5 separate regions of the Homo sapiens genome follow, and regions 1, 2, 3 and 4 are each linked to region 5. Evidence: promoter capture Hi-C in 16 types of primary human blood cells and fetal thymus (Javierre and others, 2016). All regions are on one chromosome and are shown on one strand. The core of a region is centred on a gene start or on the middle of the fragment in contact, and the rest is flanking DNA. Distances in the headings are between cores, read along the strand shown.

Evidence for each region. The method cuts DNA at HindIII sites, captures the fragments that hold promoters and counts their contacts. A CHiCAGO score of 5 or more calls a contact.
Region 1: a fragment that was not itself captured here is called in contact with the fragment with the promoter of RNPC3 in region 5 in 1 of 17 cell types (total CD4 T cells); the score reaches 7.1 in total CD4 T cells.
Region 2: a fragment that was not itself captured here is called in contact with the fragment with the promoter of RNPC3 in region 5 in 3 of 17 cell types (activated CD4 T cells, total CD4 T cells and naive CD4 T cells); the score reaches 17.0 in activated CD4 T cells.
Region 3: a contact is called between a fragment that was not itself captured here and the fragment with the promoter of RNPC3 in region 5, in 3 of 17 cell types (activated CD4 T cells, total CD4 T cells and total B cells). The highest score is 7.0, in activated CD4 T cells.
Region 4: a fragment that was not itself captured here is called in contact with the fragment with the promoter of RNPC3 in region 5 in 1 of 17 cell types (non-activated CD4 T cells); the score reaches 8.2 in non-activated CD4 T cells.

Annotation. Positions count from the first base shown.
Region 1 is chr1:96,738,265-96,740,964 of GRCh38, reverse strand. The region is part of intron 2 of PTBP2 (polypyrimidine tract binding protein 2); the gene reads right to left. Among named protein-coding and RNA genes, the nearest start is that of PTBP2, 18 kb to the right of the region's middle. The HindIII fragment of the contact is 4,459 bases long and covers 1-2,700 here.
Region 2 is chr1:95,074,368-95,077,067 of GRCh38, reverse strand. No RefSeq gene overlaps it. Among named protein-coding and RNA genes, the nearest start is that of ALG14, 2.8 kb to the right of the region's middle. The HindIII fragment of the contact is 4,740 bases long and covers 1-2,700 here.
Region 3 is chr1:96,715,120-96,717,819 of GRCh38, reverse strand. No RefSeq gene overlaps it. Among named protein-coding and RNA genes, the nearest start is that of PTBP2, 5.3 kb to the left of the region's middle. RefSeq lists enhancers at 1,160-2,087, 2,088-2,700. The HindIII fragment of the contact is 153 bases long and covers 1,333-1,485 here.
Region 4 is chr1:97,910,654-97,913,353 of GRCh38, reverse strand. All of the region lies in intron 1 of DPYD (dihydropyrimidine dehydrogenase), which reads left to right. Among named protein-coding and RNA genes, the nearest start is that of DPYD, 9.0 kb to the left of the region's middle. The HindIII fragment of the contact is 6,602 bases long and covers 1-2,700 here.
Region 5 is chr1:103,524,380-103,527,098 of GRCh38, reverse strand. It overlaps RNPC3 (RNA binding region (RNP1, RRM) containing 3), which reads right to left and starts at 1,400. Exons shown (of 15, transcript NM_017619.4): 1 at 837-1,400. The coding sequence starts at 1,028. It overlaps RNPC3-DT (RNPC3 divergent transcript), which reads left to right and starts at 1,591. Exons shown (of 4, transcript NR_168321.1): 1 at 1,591-1,703. RefSeq lists an enhancer at 949-1,188 and a silencer at 1,509-1,608. The HindIII fragment of the contact is 7,657 bases long and covers 1-2,719 here.

The DNA.
Region 1 (2,700 bases), core at 116-2,615, 6.8 Mb after region 5:
ATGAGAAACTCTAATATTAACACGTTAGAATATGCATATTAATGCTTACAGTAGCAGTTTGTAATGGAAAAAAATTTAAAATATTTGACAAATCAATCTCGTCAAATATTAACTCATTTGTCAAGATGATATATTCATATATCATATACTATATGGCAATGAAAATATATATATATATAAACTTAACAAAAATAACACTGAACAAGAAAAGCAAATTACAGAATACATACAGCATGATAGTACATCTATAGTTTAAACATGCAAAACAAAACCATATATTGCTTAAGATAAAAATACATAAACATGTAGTAAATGAGAAATTTATGGGAATGGTAAACATCAAATTTAGTATAGTAATTACCTGGAGTGGAGAAGTATGGGTCAACTATATGCAGGGTATTATCAACTCAATGCTTATGTTTCCCCAAAAATCACATGCTGAAGTCCTAACCCCAAATGTGATGCAATTTTGAAACAGGGCCTTTAGGAGTTAACTGGAGGATTTCATGAGATCATGAGAGTAAGGCCTTCATGATGGGATTAATGCCTTTATGAGAAGAAATACCAGAGAGCTTCTGCCACCCACTCCCCCAAAGTGTGCTCACAAAGAAAAGGTCATGTGAGGCACACAAAGTAAAATGGTGGCCTCACTTCAAGAGAAGTGGCCTCAGAAGGAAAGTTGCCTTGCTGGTACCTTGATCTTGGACTTCCCAGTTTCCAGAACTGTGAGAAAACGAATCTCTGTTTTTTAAGTCACTCAGTCTATGGTATTTTGTTATGGAAGTCTGAGTTATGACACAGGGGGCTTCAAATGAACTTTTGTGTACCACAATGGAATGCTATGTAGCCTTAAAAAGGGAGGAAATCTTGTCACATGCTACAAAATGGATGGACCCTGAGGACATTATATTAAGTGAATATAAGCCAGTCACAAAAGGACAAACACAACCTGAGCATTCCTAATCTGAAAATCTAAAATCCAAAATGCTCCACTAAGCACTTCCTTTGAGCATCAAGTAAGTGCTCAAAAAGTTTCAGATTGGCCAGGCGCGGTGGCTCAGGCCTGTAATCCCAGCACTTTGGGAGGCCGAGGCAGGCGGATCACGAGGTCGGGAGATAAGAGTCCATCCTGGCTACAGTGAAACCCCGTCTCTACTAAAAAATATATATATATATACAAAAAATTAGCCGGGCGTGGTGGCGGGCGCCTGTAGTCCCAGCTACTCAGGAAGATGGCGTGAACCCGGGTGGTGGAGCTTGCAGTGAGCAGAGATCGCGCCACTGCACTCCAGCCTGGGCGACAGAGTAAGACTCCGTCTCAAAAAAAAAAAAAAAAAAAAAAAAAACACACACCAGTTTCAGATTTTGTAGCATTCAGACTTTGGATTTTCAGATTAGGGATGCTTAACCTATACTGTATAATTCCACTTATGTGAGGTATTTAAAGTAGTCAAATTCATAGACACAGAAAATAGAATGCTGGTTACCAGCAGAAGGACAAAAGAGGGAGTTTTAAAATCAGTATAGAGTTTCAGTTCTCCAAAAAGTTCTGGAGATGGGTTTTGCAATGTAATATTATTAAGTACGTATAAGAATAATTAAACAATTTAAGTGTACACTTAAAAATGGTTAAGATAGTAAATTTTATGTGTTTTTTTGTACAATTAAAAAGATTTATATCAAGTTATGCAACGTTTTTTAAAGAAACAAGAAAATATCAGGGTTTAATCAATTAAGCAACATTAATAACTTTATCAATATTAATAACTTTATCATAAAATACTTAAAATGTGGAATATAGAGAAAATATATAAAGAATTACAAAAAACTAATCCCATCAACCTGGAGAAAACTACTCTATTTTGGTACACTGCCCTCCAGCTTTTGGGGACACATATAAATTGTATGCATTTGTCAAAGTTATTTTTAATCCTACTTTTCACACATATGAAAAATATTTAAAAAACATTTGTAATGTTTATGAACAGAATTTATTCATTGTCTTATCACTGAACAGTTGTTATTTCTACTATTTAAATAATGCTGTAATCAGCATCTAAAAAATATACTTATCTGATCATTTTTTCCTTATGAGTTACTAGACATAAAATACTAGGAAAAGAATACGAAACAAAGCATTATTTTCTAAAGCACTACTCCTACATTAGAAGTGTCCATTTCAGCCCAGATTTTTTAAAGTGGTATTTTGGTATTTAAACCGACATATATTTGAATTGTACATAAGAGAGAAAGATTATAAAGAGCTCCTACCAATATCATTGTCTTATTTAATCTTCACAACAATCATGCAAGTTAGAAATTATTATCCTCAATATTACAAACTAGGAAAGGGAAATTCAGATTATAAAAGACTTGTTCATAATCACTTAAGTACAACAGGGGCTCAAACCCAATCAATCCAACAATGCAAAGTATTTCCGAGGCGGGCGGATCACAAGGTCAGGAGATCTAGACCATCCTGGCTAACACGGTGAAACCCCATCTCTACTAAAAATACAAAAAATTAGCCAGGTGTGGTGGCAGGCACCTGCAGTCCCAGCTACTCGGGAGGCTGAGGCAGGAGAATGGCCTGCAGTGAGCCGAGATCCCACCACTGCACTCCAGCCTGGGCAACAGAGCGAGACTCCATCTCAAAACAAACAAACAAAAAAAACTCACCTTATTAATTCAATCAAACCA
Region 2 (2,700 bases), core at 159-2,658, 8.5 Mb after region 5:
GGCTGCAGTGAGCTGAGAGCGCATCACTGCATGCCAACCTGGGTGACAGAGTGAGACCCTGTCTCAGAAAAAAAAAAAAAAAAATCACCTCCCAGACATGCTTTACTTATGACTGGTTATAGACCACATATCGTTATTCATTTTGTCAACTATTAACATAGTTTTCATGCTTTTTGCAGCACTATAATTTACTTCCATGAATCTGTTAAATGTACTGTCAGCGCAACTCATCTTCCCAAGAGAAATTTTAATTGTTGCTTCTTCTCACTCAGTCTTAACTTTCCTGATTAATCCACTATAGCTTTTTTTTTTTTTTTTTGAGACAGAGTTTCGATCTTGTTGCCCAGGCTGGAGTGCAATGGCACGATCTCAGCTCACTGCAACCTCCCCCTCCCGGGTTCAAGCAATTCTCCTGCCTCAGCCTCCTGAGTAGCTGGGATTACAGGCATGTGACACCATGCCCTGCTAATTTTGTATTTTTAGTAGAGACGGGGTTTCTCCATGTTGGTCAGGCTGGTCTGAAACTCCCGATCTCAGCTGATCCACCCTCCTCAGCCTCCCAAAGTGCTGAGATTACAGGCATGAGCCACCGCACCTGGCCTTTTTTTTTTTTTTTTTTTTTTTTTTTTTTTTGAGACAGGGTCTCTGTCACCCAGGCTGGAGTGCAGTAGTGCAAATATGGCTCACTGCAGCCTTGATCTCTTGGGTTTAAGCAAACCTCCCACCCCAGCCTCCTGAGTAGCTGGGACTACAGGTACACACCACCATCATGCCTGGTTAATTTTTTACAGAGATAGGGTCTCACTCTGTTGCCTTGGCTGGTCTCAAACTCTGAGGTTCAAGTGATCCTCCTGCCTTGGCCTCCTAGATTGCTGAGATTACAGGCATGAGCCACCATGCCTGGCCCACTACAGCTTCTTGACTTCTTGATTATCTATACATTCTGTGTCTGTCACAGCCCAGGACTTGGCTTACCCAGGTGACATTTTTGGCAGGAATTCTCAGCTATGTTCCTGTCCCTGCCTGCTACCTAGCTGCTCCCTGCAGTTCTCAACTTTCTTGGCAGGAAAACTAAAGAGTTTTATGATCACCTTAATTCAGAATAATTCAACCAATAAGTCCAAACAATGTCTGGTACCCCACCCTCTTTGATTCTCTGCATTTCCTTGCAAGCCCCCAATGTTTGATTGCTTCCATTCATTCCAGCTACATGCCAAGTGTGGTCAAACTAATATTTCCTACAGATATAGGTAATTATAATAGTGAGGGGATGAAGTAATGGGAAATGCAAGGGTGTCCTCCAAGTATTAAATCTACCTTAATATAGAGCTTGGGGCCTGGAGCTAAGTAATTATCATATGCCTGACATTTTCATTGCATGTGTCAGTTTACAAAGCTGTTTCAGACACATCATCATCACAGCAATCTAGATGCTATTGTTTGCCTACCCAACAACCCTCCCTGCAGCTTCCTCCTCACTGAGAGAATGCCTATTTTGTTCAGTACCCACCCTCCATCCAACAGCCATGTATTACAGGTGAGTTGTAGATCATCCTCCTCCCACCTCCACCAGCTTTGAAGTCGCTTTCCTTTTATGCCTGGGAAAGTGATATAAGTATGGCCAAAAGGAGTGAAAGAAAGTCTGCTGTGAGGGGTTCTAGAATAAGTTTCCTTGCCTTTAAAAAAATAAAAAATAAAGCAGGCCGGGCGTCATGGCTCACCCGTATAATCCCAGCACTTTGGGAGGCTGAGGTGGGCGGATCATGAGGTCAGGTTCAAGACCAACCTGACCAACATGGTGAAACCCCGTCTCTACTAAAAATACAAAAATTAGCTGGGTGTGGTGGCGCATACCTGTAGTCCCAGTTACTTGGGAGGCTAAGCCAGGCGAATTGCTTGAATCCCAGAGGTGGAGGTTGCAGTGAGCCGAGACCGTGCCACAGAGCAAGACTGGGGGGGAGGGGCAAAAAAGACCCGACAAGATAACCTCTTTTTTGGCTATGGAGATTGCCCTGTTGGATGTAACCATCCACACATCCCATTCTGGGACCACTAGTGTCTTAAGTATCAGGTAAGACTGTTTCAGGTTGAAGACATTATTAGGAATGGCAGAGTGGGCATATACAAGTAAATGATACTCCTTGTATTATCCTTGAGCTGTTTTTCTTACTACACCAAAGACCCTACCTCTGGACTTCCAACTACGCATTTGTAAGCCCAGAGAATTCTGATTCCATTAAAATTTGAGAGACACTGACTTCTAAGTCCACAACTATGAACTTTCTCCACCCTTACTAGCTAAGTAGACTTAGGCAAATTATTTAACTTTTATGGAATCTACTTCTTTGTCTGTAAAAAGGGAACTAATATCCACTTTAAGGTCTTACTGCGAGAATGTATAGTTAAGAAGATTTGATGGAGCCGGGCGCAGTGGCTCATGCCTGTAATCCCAGCACTTTGGGAGGTAGAGGCGGGCAGATCACCTGAGGTTAGGAGTTCGAGACCAGCCTGGCCAACATGGTGAAACTCTGTCTCTACTAAAAAAAAAAAAAAAAAAAATAGCCAGGCATGGTGGTGCATGCCTGTAGTCCCAGCTACTTGGGAGGCTGAGGCAGGAGAATCGCTTGAACCTGGGAGGTGGGGGTTGCAGTGAGCCAAGATTGTGCCACTGCACTCCAGCCAAGCGACAGAGTGAGACTC
Region 3 (2,700 bases), core at 160-2,659, 6.8 Mb after region 5:
ATCAATAAAGCTGCTGTATAGCTATTGGCTTGGGGCTTCTTTCACCAATATGTAATTCTCTCCTATATTGGATCTCTGGTTTCCTAGATCCCATATCTTCTTTCCTGATATATTCCCTCATCAGGAAATACACCTTCCAGAAGGTTCCAGAGAAAAAAATCCATAGGAAACACTTTTTTTTAATATATTGTGTATTCAGAGATATGTTTATTCTATTTTCACATGTTATTGATAGTTTGGAAAGCAATGCTTTTTCTCAGTACTGTACTTGTAAACTTTATACTATGTCTACTTGGAGGGGGTGTCATAAAGATAAAAAGCATATACTTTTTACTCCTGCTCTCCAGCTACTGAGTTCCATGTTCCAGAGGCAAACCATCTTACCAGTTAATTACATATTTTTTCAGAGATGTTCAAAGACATATATTGATTATATATATATAGTTTTTCTTTTGATTCAAAAGTGGTAACTATTATGCACACTATTCTGAAACATTTTTTCGACTTTAAAAATTTACATCTTAGAGATCTTTCCTTATCAGTATGTTTAGAGCTGCCTCATTCTTTATATACACCTGCATAATATTCCACTGAATAAGTAAATCATGATTTATTTATCTAGATCATATTGAGGAACATTTAGATTGCCTCCATTCTTGCTATTTACACACAATTCTGCAATGAATATCCTTGTTTCTGAGATGTTCCCTGCAAGTGTGAATATGTCTTCTGGATAAATACTATAAATAAAAATTACTAGATAGAGTAGAGTATATTTTTTATTTTAAAAGAGACTGTCAAGTTGCCTACATGAGCGTGAGCCTTGGTGTAAAATATTAGCAATTCCTACCATTTAAAAAGGGAAGCGTACTGATTTCTTTAATACATAAGGAGTTCCTACAAATACAAAATCAAAAGCCAACAGTCAAATAGAAAAATTGGTAAAGCATATGAATAGATTATGACATATTACAGGAAAGTAAAAACAAATATGCTCAGCCTCATTTTAAAGCAATTCAAGGTGAAACTGTACTAAGATACTTTTTTCACTTGTCAACACCCCTTGTAGGCAGACTAGCACAAAGCTTCTGAGTGCAGTACTGAGAAAAAGTATTCCTTTCCAAACTATCAGTAACATATGAAAATGGAATAAACATAAATCTAGATACACCAAATGTCAAAAATTTGTTTTCTATGGATTTTTTTTATTTGGAATTTTCTGGAAGATGTATTTCCCAATGAGGCTAATGCACCAGGAAAGAAGATGTTGTACCCAGGAAACCAGAGATCCACTATAGAAGAGAAGAAAATTGTATGTTGGTGAAAGAAGCTTCAACAGCTATGCAGCAGTCCTATGGTTACAATGGAATATGAGACCAGAAGGCTCAAGGAAAGACGTATCTGAGAAAAATATGGAACTTTTATAGATAAAATATAATATGTCTGTATATGTTTAGTACAGGTTTGTGGTGCTATTGGTAAGCTTAGGGAAAGCATTAATCAAAAACACATGAAATATGTTTTAAATTAACTACAGGGTAAGGAAAAAGTTGTAAAGAAATATAATTATAGCACACTCTGTGGCTCGGTTTGTGAAAGTAATTACATCTTCACAATAATATAAGCACTGAATACTAATAAAATTAAGATTGTGAAACAATTTTGTCAGAGAAGGAAGAGAAATACGGATGTGCACATATGTGTATGTGGTAGGGTTATAAACTCTCATCTTCAAAAGTAGGAAGTCAGCAGAATATGTCTAGAATTAATAGGTGAGAAAATGGCACACAAACATATTTTTCAGAAGTATGGAGGTAAATATCACGATGATTAGGGAGAATTGAAAAGTATACTCTTCTATCTCTTATGCTTCTGGGGCATCGCACCACAGGATGAGAAATAAAAAGAAGAGTATACTTTTGAATTTTGTTTTTGTTGTAAGCCAAAAATAAAATTTGAAGCCCCTCCCCTCCAACTGAATGGACTCCTCCTCTTGGCCAATGGCATTCCAAAGTTAACCCAAAACACGTGTTCAGGCCCTGATGGGAATGGGTGGCCTCACTATACCCTCCTGTCTTCAGAATCCTGTCTTCAGGAGCTGACCAGCATTAACATCAAAACAGAGATCTTAACACAATCTATTCTCTCTAAAACCTGCTACCTGGAAGCTTCATCTGCATAATAAAAACTTTGGTTTCCACAAGCCCTTATCTTAAACCAGACCCTCCCTTCTATTGATTCCAGGTCTTTAGATAAACTCTTTCAACTAATTGCCAATCACCAAATCTTTGAATCCACCTATGACCTGGAAGCCCCTGCTTTGAATTATCCTGCCTTTTCAGATAGAACATGTATTAATTGATATCTTATGTCTCCCTAAAACATATAAAAACAAGCTGTAGCCTGACCACATTGGGCACATGTTCTCAGAACCTCCTGAGGCTGTCATAGACATGTCCTTATCCTTGGCAAAATAAACTTCTAAATTGATTGAAACCTGTCTCAGATACTTTTGGTTTAAAAATGTCATGTAAATCTTCCAAAACTATTTACTTTTTAAGCTATGGGCATGTGTTACTTTGATAAAAATAAATTTTACATTAAAAAAGAGAAGGAATTAGATGGCAGTGAGCAAAGGACCGTTTTAGCACAAACATTGCCTCTTTTGTATTCAGCAATAGTGACTGCTTATCTCCATGT
Region 4 (2,700 bases), core at 123-2,622, 5.6 Mb after region 5:
GTGTGTTCATATTAAGGAAATGCTGAGATATTGGCTCCTCGATTTACATACTTGGTAGGATTGAGTGTACTATTTATACCAGCTGTATGAATTTCATGTGCTTATTCACCTGATTTTAAACTTTTTTAATGTCTGCTTGCTGCCTTTTCTTTTTTAATCTGATGAAGTAGCTAAATCTAAATTTCGCCTGAGAATACAAGAAAAGTTCAATCGTACTATATATGGCTGGAGTTCTGTGTAAGGGTGATCTGGAATTAACAAATTTACATTTTGTATGTTTAGGATTATGCTGTCTTTAACTAGAAATTAAGACCAGAGATTCGAAAAAGGAGATGGGACTCTTTATGCCAATTTCTTCAGTGTGTTTGTTGATTGATGATTGTAGGTGAAAACCATGGCATAAGCAATGGGGTCCCCAGAATTCAAGCTATACTAATCTGACTCCTTGTACCACAGTGACCTGAGAGCTTTGCGGGACTTCTTTCAGATATTTCTCTATGCCAAATATTGAGGAGTGCTGGGGTAAAAATTTAAACTTCTCCACAGTTCAAAGAAGAAAGGCATTCAGTTCCCCTTACAGATCTCTAGGGGTAACGTGTGTTACCGTTCACCACAAAATGTTCATTCCTGTTAACTTTTAGTGTAACCTTAGTGTAATAAAAGTGTTAACTTTTATTATGCTTTATTTCCCCGATTTGATTTTTAAATTATTTTTCATGATTATTACAGAAGATTTAAAACATACAAAAAACTAAAATCAAAAGATGACCCCAAAGATACATAGTCATCCCACTCAAGTCATCCACGTAATATTGATGTAGTACATTTCTTTCCTGTGCACGAGGTAATCTTTCCCTAAATACTTTTAGTCATATATAATTTGATATTTGTTTTCTTGTCCTATCAAAAGCATTTCTTTATATTCATATTAACTTCAGTTTTAAGTCACGGCGTAACATTCCTTGTGAGTGGAGATATCAAAATGTATTCAAGCCTCTCTCTTATTATCATACATTTACCTTGTTTTTTAGTAGTCAGTTATTAAGAACAATGTTTCAGCACAATTTTTTTTTATTTGCTTAAAGCATTGTGCTGGAAATACACTTGAGAGTGTTGGCTCAATGATATATAGTGCATTTTGGTTCTGCCGTTCTCGTTTGCATGCTTCAACTGAATTAAGTGTCTTTAAAAATATGTTTTAAAAAAGGAAAAGGGGACCATTTTGGGGTGCAAAGACAGAAGGAGCAAAATGGAAATGGAACCAGTTTAACCGTTTGCCTCATCTTCCTAACACTGATTCTAGGTAACAGAACGGGCAGGCATCTGGATGTAGTTCCCTTTGATGTGGATGTGACTTCCTTTTAACTCAGTGCTGATAATAGCGTTTCTTTCTGGAGAATGGCTTGACAGCGTGCATGGTTCCTAATTTTTTCTGCCCTGGGAGAAAAGGAAGAGTAAGGTTGGACCTCAGGTTGTTATCTTGGATGGAACATTCATAAACCTCAGATTATTGTCGTGAATGGATAAATCTCAGGTTGTTATCTAGAATGAGTAAATGTAATACTAACTGCAGCTGTCTCATTATGTGATGGAAACTTTTATATTATCCCAGCCTTCTCACCCTCACCCCAAGAACAAACCACTCTGGCAGACCAGATTCTCAAAGAATTATTTTATCCTAGCCTGCCTTTACTTTGAAGTATGGGTTGTCATGTGTGTGCATGTGCATATGCACTAGCATGTGTGTGTACATTTTCTTTTTTTTTTCTTCCTGGTACTCAGAGAAGAAAGGGTCCGTGAGTGTAACTACTTTTGACTCAACACATTTTTCTCCCACATACAAATTAAATGAAGCAAAACATACTTCTTCCTTGGGTGTGCCAACCAAAATGACTCTTGATTTTTGCTACATTTTAAAGCTAAAGTTTACTTGCAACCCAGACTCCAGACATTGGTATGCTTAAGGCTCTGTCTTTTCTGAAAGAGATAAAAACATTTGCAGAGAAAAATTTGTATGTAGCTCATGAAAATTAGTGCCCATCACCCCTTTCATTCCAAGACTGGACAGTAAGAAACAAAACTTAAGCATCCTTTATGCTTAAGATCACAATATTATAGGATCCTAGAAGGGAATCATCAATGGTAGGTATGACTACTTTAAGGATTTGAAATATTTTCAAGTTGATGTCTACATAGTACTACTAATTAATATAGCTGCTAGCAGCTGTATGAGTATGTATAAAATGATACCCTTTCAAGTGTTAATAAAAATTATTTTTTAAATAAACAATTAGGTGAAACTTTTGTGTGATTCGTTTAATTTGTATTTGTTTGAATATTGGTAAATTTTAAACATTTTTCCACATTTTAAAATATTTTGGGTTTTATTTTAAACAAATTATTTTAACAACATTTTAATGTAAGAGTAAAATAAAAAAATGTAAATAAGAATACAAATAAGAAAAGTAGAAGTATAACAGATTTTAAGAAAACTAGATGCTAATGTATCATGAGATCACAACAAAATGAATGTTATCTTGGAAACATAAAATCTCCCCAAACCTCAGATAAATTCAGAAACAGCAGTAGACTGATAACCTCTGTCCTTTATAATATTTATTGATGATGAGTAACAGATAATTAATATTTAGTCTGATTGTAGTGGAAGGACAGCATAGATTTGTGGTTAAGAGTATAGAC
Region 5 (2,719 bases), core at 151-2,650:
GCACATTCTAATTTTGTCTAATCTGATACACGATGACCTGATGTACTTAAATTGAGCCATATATAATTTTTTTTTTTTAATTTGCAGGCATAAGTGACATTTAAACTGATCAAAATTGGTCTTTCTTCTAATTCAGTAACTCTCAACTTGGGCTGCACATTAACATTAAAATCACCTAGGGAAACTTTAAAACCACTGAGTCTTGCACCATCGCTATTCCTATTTTAATGAAGAGAAATCTAAAATATCTTTGGATATAAAGCAAAACAAAGTAATTGTGTAAATTCCTACACAGGTACTCTTAACAGCCCTAAAAAATTGTTCCCTAAAAGATGTCATCGGGAAATTTTTATGAAAAGCCTCTTTTTCTAGTTGAAATTCTGCATTTAATTTACGCAAGTCACCAATGTAGCTTCTCCTCTATTTTAATGAACGATTTAACATTGGCTTATAAATGAAGTAGGACTTTAAAAAATCCCTTGATGCACATTTGTAAGAATACTCTTGAGTCCAGGAGAAATAACCCCAAATTCAAAAAAGTTGTGAGGCTCTCAGGATGGATCCGAAAACTCAATATAACTAAGCTAATTTCCATTCTTCTGCTTTGTCGTTCTCACTTGCCCTTTTCTGCAGTGCTATGACTAATCCAGACTCGAGCCGATTAAAACTCCACTTCGCAGAGCAGATATTTTGATAAAAAAGAGGTAGGATGGGGGAGCTCTCATCACACAAGTCCATCTTCCCCACTCGTTTCCATTTTACTCTTGTCAGCGCTCCCCCTCCCCGGTCACTTCCCAAATGCCTTCCCGGGAGACTCCGGAGGGGCGCGCCCTTACCAGTCGCCCCTTATCTGACAGGACCCGCACAGACTGAGCCCCGAAGTACTTCAGCAAGTCCTCTTTCTCCTCAGCAGTAAGCTCAGCCGGCAGGTGCCTGACCAGAAGGGTTCGGTCGCCCCGAGGCGGGGAAAGCGAGGAGGAGCTCGTGCATCCCCTTGATATCGCAAGCGGCTGCTCGGGAGCTGCCATTTTCCTTGGAGAAGCAAAAACAGAAATCGTGGGAAGAAGTCTCAGTCAAAATCGCGGCATCAACACAAGCTGGGAGAAATATTTTTTCCGCCTCGCGCTAAGGATTCTGGAAACCAGGAAATACCGAGAAAGAAAGTCACCTTCTCGCGAGAACTGCGCCACCGAAAAGCGGCAACCCTTCGAAGACTCTTCGGGGAAGGGCGCGGTGCTAATGATTTAAATTCCAGGGGTCTCCGGAAAGACTTACAAGCAAAAATTGGCCCAGAGATGTGCGAGGGTTAACACAAGTTGTCAATCAAAGAAGGAAACAGGAACCCCAGCCACTTCAGGGAAAGAAGGTTGACGCTCAAGGACAAGAGGACTCACGACTGCGCATGTGCGGGCTGGGACCGTCACAGGGCGGGGCGGGGCGCACGGCGGGGCGGGGCGCACGGCGGGGCGGGGCGCACGGCGGGGCGGGGCGCACGGCGGGGCGGGGCGCACGGCGGGGCGGGGCGCACGGCGGGGCGGGGCGCACGGCGGGGCGGGGCGCACGGCGGGGCGGGGCGCACGGCGGGGCGGGGCGCACGGCGGCGAGCGCTATCTGGAGCTGACCGTGCGGCTCTTAATCCCTGGCCTTGGGAAAGTGAATTGGCCTGAATAGCAAGGAGGAGAACTTGGGTGTGGAAATACCGGGTATGTTCTTACAGTATTTAGATGGTAAAATATAAAGCTAGCCAGTTATTCTGTCAACTCATTAGACACCATTGTAGGGAGGAGAACTCAGTTTAAGGGGCAAAACGTTGAGAGTTCAGACTTTTTTCTTGAATCAGTAGGCATTTAGCAGACGGATAGGCCCCTGCCAGGGTTCATTTCGCAGAAATGGCAGCCTCTAGGGAGAGGTAACCTAATAAATAAATTATTGCATGTGTGTGTATGTGTGTGTGTGTAGGGGTGTGTGTGTGTGTGTGTGTGTATGTGTGTGTGTGTGTAGGTGTAGGTACTTTTCTCCCTATTTTACAGCTGAGGACACTGATGTACAAAGAGGTTAAATCACACAGCTAGAAAGTGGAAGAACTAAGTTTTGACCCTTGGTGTTCTGACTGGGGGTCTACATTCTAATCCACTGTTCTGCCTAGATTCTGAATGGAGTGAGGCAGGGATCATCCCCGGAGGGTCAGGAATGTACCCCTCACCCCATACAGAGAGGGCCTTGAGGATTCTAAAGAGAGGTTTTATGCTAGATGTAGCTGCTACAGTCTGGAGAACCAGAGTTCCTCTTACAGTTCTTTTTGCCACTTAAATAAATGTTAGAGATACAGCAGTAAGCAGTATACCAGCAATCTGCTGTCATCCCGCATTGGTTGGGGAAAAGGAGAGAGACAGATATTAATGAAAACTAGAAGACAAACATGAGAAGAACCTTCCCCACACACCCACCAAAATATCAGATAGGTAGAGCCAGACCACGTAGACGCTGTAGATTTGTTAGGAGCCCTTTTTATTTGAGGAACATTTAGAAACTGACAAATTCTTTAAGTAGGTGTGTGTTGAGGGGAGAGAATCAAAGTTTAGGTATGAAAATTTCTCCGGTTGCAATGCAAAAAACAGAAGCAGAAAGACCAGTTGGACTACTGTAGAAGTCTGGAGAAAAACACTACCATAATAGTTTGGTGAAAGTGGACATGTAGAGAAGGAACTGGAATTGAGAT